Linked DNA regions of Homo sapiens: region 2 is linked to region 1. The links are contacts of gene promoters, found by promoter capture Hi-C in human tissues and cell types (Jung and others, 2019). All regions are on one chromosome and are shown on one strand. The core of a region is centred on a gene start or on the middle of the fragment in contact, and the rest is flanking DNA. Distances in the headings are between cores, read along the strand shown.

What was found. The method cuts DNA at HindIII sites, captures the fragments that hold promoters and counts their contacts. A contact is called where the count stands out against the background at its distance.
Region 2: a contact is called between a fragment that was not itself captured here and the fragment with the promoter of PLEKHB1 in region 1, in 1 of the 25 tissues and cell types used here (mesenchymal stem cells).

Annotation. Positions count from the first base shown.
Region 1 is chr11:73,644,721-73,647,830 of GRCh38, forward strand. PLEKHB1 (pleckstrin homology domain containing B1) reads left to right here and starts at 1,861. Exons shown (of 8, transcript NM_021200.3): 1 at 1,861-1,906. The coding sequence starts at 1,889. RefSeq lists enhancers at 1,426-2,344, 2,980-3,110 and a silencer at 2,720-2,939. The HindIII fragment of the contact is 18,602 bases long and covers 1-3,110 here.
Region 2 is chr11:73,441,625-73,444,940 of GRCh38, forward strand. The region is part of intron 2 of FAM168A (family with sequence similarity 168 member A); the gene reads right to left. Among named protein-coding and RNA genes, the nearest start is that of RELT, 67 kb to the left of the region's middle. The HindIII fragment of the contact is 7,363 bases long and covers 1-3,316 here.

The DNA of each region.
Region 1 (3,110 bases), core at 611-3,110:
AGCAATTCTCCCGCCTCAGCCTCCCTAGTAGCTGGGATTACAGGCATGTGCCACCACACCCAGCTAATTTTGTATTTTTAGTAGAGATGGGGTTTCTCCATATTGGTCAGGCTGGTCTCGAACTCCCGATCTCAGGTGATCTGCCCGCCTTGGCCTCCCAAAGTGCTGGGATTACAGGCATGAGCCACAGCGCCCGGCCATTTAAAATGTTTTCATAAGCACTTTTACTTTTGCTCAAATTGCATCTTGATATAAACTTCAAGTTTTTTAAAATAAAGATAATATAAATTATTCTCATTATATTATACTCTCTAGAAAATGTAAGTAGTAAATTTGAATTTGATGAGCCAGTCCACTATTTCCTAAACAATGTATTATCTGTGGGCTGTTCATTCACCAGGGACACTTGAAATGGCAAAATCTTTTCCTCTCTGCCAATGGTTCTGTGCACCATAGCCACAAAGAAATGTAAAAGTTACTTGTTGGCTTATTAGTCTCAATAAGTTTTAGTTGATTGAACAAACAAAGTCTCTCACAGCCAGGACTGCTGCGGCTGGAATTCCTGACATACTGTCATACCTCTCACTCGTCAATCTACACTCTCCTCCCATCTACACAGCTCTGGAAATTAAAAACAATCCAACCATGACTATCATGGCTTCAGAGGTCTATGAACTCCCAGGAATTATACGCAGATTTTTTCCTGAGGACAGTCTACACTTCCTTATTGGCTTCTCAAAGAGGGTCACTGACCAGCTTTTAGAGACATGGGCCAAGTCCGGCTACGTTTAGATTCGGTAGTAGTGTCTGTGGTTTTAGTTTGCCACGTCCTTTCCTCTTTTTTTCGTCATAGTGCCCGCTCTTTGGGAGGTAGGGGAGAGTCTTCCCCTGAAGTCTCCACTGCTGCTGGAGAACCTTCCTTTTTCATCTGGTTGCTAAATCCAGAGAATGAAATCTAGGAGATGATTGCACCGTCCCCGCCCCTCAACATGAAGGATGCCCCACTGCCCATCGGGGAGGGGAGCAGGGAGAGCTGGAGAGAGGCTGGGTCGGGGCAGGACCCAGGCGCAGATCCTCCGAGGCCAGCTGCAGCCCTACCTACCTGCCTTCCCGTCTTTCCCCTCCCTTCTTTTCTCCTTCTGTCTTTCCTTCCTTCCATATCTCTTTCCTTGCCTCTTTCCCCCTCCCACTGCTTCCTTTCTTCCTTCCACTGTGGAGGTGGAAAATTTAGCTAGGAGAAGCTGGGACTGGGACGTTCCAGGAACCAGACAGAGAGTGAGTTAAAGGCACAGAGATGAAAACGCGGTATGGGAGAGCTGGTTCTTGAGTCGGCTAAGAGGGGATGAACTCAATGGTTAATAGGATTGGCCATGGCGAATCCCTCAGCAGGGCACGCACCGCACAAAGGGCCGAGGAGCGAGGGTAGCTCGAGGTCAGGATTACAGAGACTCAGGAGCAAGAGAGGAAGGCTTAAAGAGCCAGACTGCGCAGCCAGGACTGGGGTGATGGGCGCTGTCCTGCCAGGCCAAAGAATGAAGATGTAGCCCCGCCCCCAACCTAGGGAGGAGGACCAGCCCGGTTCCTGTCCTGCCCCCGCAACCTCGCCCCGATTCCACTCCGGGAACCTCGGCGATGCTGAGCCAAGACCACTTCTGAATCAGGGATGACTTGTCTAGTGAACCTAGGGTCAGAGCCATCAGTTGGAAAGGCTGGGAGGAGCCTGGAGAAAGAGGGCGACCTTCCTTGGGATCTGTGCGCTCCCTCCTTGCCTCCCCCTCCAGCCTCCCACTTGGTAGCACCTTCCTGATCCCCTTATCTCTAAGGCGCTCAGGGAAATGCCCCGCTGCGGGAGCCTTCTGGGAAATGCTGCCCTGGCCACCCAGGAACCATGAGCCCTGCAGCCCCGGTAAGGAAGAGTTCTCTGGGACAGGAGGAAGGGCCCAGGGCAGGGTGGGCACCCTTGCCACATAGGGGACGGGACAGAAGTCTTTTAGGCCCTGACATCCTCTGGTCTCTGAATGACATCCTGTGGCTGCTGGTAGGTGAGGGTTTGCGGGGCTGAGCTATTGAAGGAAATGATCACAGTCCGAGGTGATAGATACAGAAAGTCTTCCTTTCTCCAGGTGGGCTCCCGCCAGTCCATTCTTCACTGTGCCCTAGAGGGGCCTTTCCGACCCCCTAATCACACACCTCACTCCTCATCTTGAAACTCCCACCCCCAGCTCCAGTCACTGCGTCCTAACATCCAAGCTCTCCGCCTGTCATGCAAGGCCTCTGTGCTATTTCTTTCCAAACCCTGCAGCTCTATCGCCTGACACTCCCGATGCCCTCCCCACCCCTGCGCTTTATGTTCTAGACACACGGAAATGCTGGGCACTCTTCAACATCCTGACAGTATTCATAGGGGAAATTTCGGGTCGCCTAGGAAACTGCCCCTCATCCTCCAAGGCCCCTTTCAGCCTCCTCTGGGAAGCCTTCCTGAACCCCTTGAGAAAAGTCAGGCTCATCTTTTCCATTGTTAAATCACACCTTGTGCTCCAATTGTGTGTTTCCATGTAATCTCCCTCACTAGACTGGAAGCTGGGGATGGAAAGGGGAAGCATCAAAAAAACATGCAAAACTAGGAGCTTGGCTTCTCCTTGCAACTTTACTTTTTCTTTTTTTCTAGGAACTGAGTTCAATGATTCTTAAGAAAAAGTATTTCATGATAAATGAGTGAACAAATGTCTTAATAGAAAAGTAAAATTGCAGGCGGGGCTGCTTCTGCCCAGCTCTACAGGGGTAGACTACAAGTCCCAGTACGCCTCGGGTCAGCATCTCTTCACGTCACTCCCCCTCCCTGGGGTGGGCAGGTCCGGAGGGCGGGGCCCGGGGGCAGCTGGGCTCTCAGGCGCTGCGGGAGGAGAGAAATGCCCCAGGCTCTCCGGGGCACACAAAGCGCAGGCGCAGCGGGTTGGGTGGCAGCAGCATCGAGTAGCGGCCGCTTAGGCAGCAACATCCGCAACAAGTGTAGACAAGGTGGGTGCATCAAGGGGAGGGGCTGGAAAAGGAGTCTGCACCTGACCCTCTTGTCTGATCTGTGTCAAGACCGTGGAGAGGGGAGGGAGCGG
Region 2 (3,316 bases), core at 575-3,074, 200 kb before region 1:
TCACCAATGACGCCATCTGGTCCTGGGCTTTTCTTTGCGGAAAGTTTTTTGATTACTAATTCTCTCTTATAGGTCTAGTCAGATTTTCTATTTCTTCACGAGTCGGTGTTGGCAGTTTCTTTCTTTCTAGGAATTTGTCTATTTCACCTAGGTGCCTAATTTGTTAGCATACAATTGTTCACGGTCTTACCTCATATTCCTTTTTATTTCTATTAAAAGTCTGTAGTAATGTCCTCTGTATCATTCTTGATTTTAGTAATTGGAGACTTCTCTCTTTTGTTCTTCATCAGCCTAGCTAAAGCTAAAAAGGTTTGTTGATTTTGCCAGTCTTTTAAAATAACCAACTTTTGGTTTATTGATTTTCTCTGTTTTTCTCCATTTTATTTCACTGATTTCTTTATCATGTCCTTTCCTGTACTTGATTTAGGCTTCATTTGCTCTTTTTCCCCGCAGTGTGTTAAGGTGAAAGATTCAGTTATTGAGTTGAGGTCTTTCTTCTTCTTTTTTTTTTTTTTTTTTGAGACGGAGTCTCACTCTGTCGCCCAGGCTGGAGTGCAATGGCACAATCTCGGCTCACTGCAAGCTCCACCTCCCGGATTCACGCCATTCTCCTGCCTCAGCCTCCCGAGTAGCTGAGACTACAGGCGCCCGCCACCACGCACGGCTAATTTTTTGTATTTTTTAGTAGAGATGGGGTTTCGCCGTGTTAGCCAGGATGGTCTCGATCTCCTGACCTCATGATCCGTCTGCCTCAGCCTCCCAAAGTGCTGGGATTACAGGCATGAGCCACCGCGCCCGGCCTCTTCTTTTTTAATGTAAGCACTTACAGCTATAAATTTCCCAGACATTTTGGTATGTTATGTTTCATTCATCTCAAAGTATTTTCTCATTTTCCTTGTGATTTCTTTTTTGACCCACTGGTTATTTAGGAATGTGTCATTTAATTTTCACGTAACTGTGAATTTCTCAAATTTCTTTCTGTTACTGATTTCTAATTTTGTTCCACTGCAGTCACAGAACATACTTTGGTATGAGTTCAATCCTTTATACGTACTGAGAGTTGTTTTATGGCCTAGCACACTGTCTATCCTGAAGATTGTTCCATGTATTCTTGAGAATTATATTCTATTATTGGAGTGCCCTCTAGGTGACTGTTGGGTATACGTGGTGTACAGTGTTGTTCAAGGCTTCTATTTCTTTTCTTTCTTTCTTTCTTTTTTTTTTTTTTGAGACAGAGTGAGTAAAGATGCTGACAGTAAAGGAAAGGAGAGGAAGTGACAGCTTGAGGAGACAGAAGAGTCCACAGGAATTTTCCTTTATATATACAAAGGATATATATATATATATATATATATATATATATATATATATATGCCAAGCCTTTTTTCCACCCTTAAAAATGGAGGAAATTAGGAGCACATAACTAAAGGCATCTTTGTTTACATTTACACTCAGGTTGCTAAAGTTCACTTTTATACTTATTTTATCATCCCAAAGCCTGTATCCTACAACCTTTCTTAGCCCTTTCCCAGTGCTATAATTAGTTGTAGGCTGGAAAGCCAAAAATCCATGCTTTTTAGAATTATGTATACATTAAATGTTAATACTTGAGCGACTGCCTTCAAAAATAAGCCAAGTGCACAAACTTTGGCCAATTTAACTAAATAAATACTTATTTGAGCACTTAATGTGTGCTAAGTGCTATAATGAATGCAAAAGGAAGACATAATTCTTGCCCTCCGTGAACTCACCATCTAATGAGAAAGACAAGCAAGAACATAAGTAACCCTGATATTAGGCTGCCAGGGACAAAGGCCATCACAGAGGGAGATATAAGCGTTGTGAGAGAAGAGGGAAGAAAGACGAAAAGACTTTTAATCTGGTCTGGCTTCTGGATTGGAAAGGTTGCTGCAACTCCAAGTTAGTGACAGGAGATACCTTAAATAGAGTGTTACCTGTGCTCAGGTCATGTCCCCTTCCCTACTGTTGTGGACACTGACAGCAGGTGTCAAACTGAGACAACCTGTAGTGTTATGCAACAGTGGCGCTTCATTTATAGGCAGACCTAGGTTTAAATTCCAGCTCTTTTACTTTTTAGCTCTGTGACTTTGGGCAAATCACTTCAATTTTCAAAGCCTGGGTTTTGATATTTTAAAAAATAGACACAATCAGTTAACTTACTTATTGGTAAATAATTTTTGAGTATCTATTCTATGTTAGCACCAGTGTCCTTTTTTCCTTCTCCTGTATCTGCATGTGGGCCGGCTTGGAAGGTGAGCAGGGCCAGGCCAGAGTAAGTTCAGAGCAAGCCCTAAACTTACTTCGTAGAGACCCATCTAAACATTCTTACTGTGAATCAAAAGAAGATATTTCCTCCTCTGGCTATCCTAAAGGAGCCATCATAGTCCAGTGGGAAGAACGGGGGTTCTGAAGGCAGGCAGTGTGGATTCAAAAGTCAGCTGTACCATTTACCAGACATAATATCATAGAAAAGTCCCTTTACCTAATCCTCATGAACACAAGGATATCCTATACTGCAGGCCAGAAAATTATAAAAGATGGCATGCAAAGCAACTAGCATAAATACTTGGCACAGAACAGTAAGTACTTCAGTAAATAATAGTCTCCCACCCATGCCCTTTTCATTAAAAGTTCCCTGTTGGAAACAATTGTGTTTGCCCATGGATTTTAAGATTGTTTGATGAAAAATCTTCCAGATCCTCAATCATGTGCCTTATCACCCTGCCTTTCCCTCAACTCTCACATGGCTCCAGCTGGTTAGGCCTATTATTGTTTGACCAAGCACAAGCTGGACAAAAGCAAGCTTCTAGTCAGCATGGCTTTTTGTAGAAACAGTAAACCAGTCATTCTCTGAATACAGGTAATTTTTTGTATACTGTTGTGAGTATGTGTATTTACAATCTTTTGTGCATTTTAAAACATTTTTGTCCCTCTTTAAAAAATTGTAAATGAAAGTGTCCCCACATTTTTGCCTTTTTATTTGTAATTTATTTCAGTCTATTATTTCTGCTTTATGCTACTAGCTAATAGTGAAAGTTCAAACAACCTAAATGTCTACCAACAGGGCATTAGCTGAAACAAATCTAAACCCAATCTAGAATTCCTTAAGTAAATTAAGGTGAGTTATACAACAGTACATAGCATATACTCTCATTTTTGTTGAAAAACAATGTATGTATGTTCATTTTAAAAGACCTAGAAAAACAGATATACAATTATTAGTGTTCCTCTATGTTCTTCTCATGTCAGTATTCTCTATTTTTTCTAAAATGAGCATACACTGTTTTGGAAATAA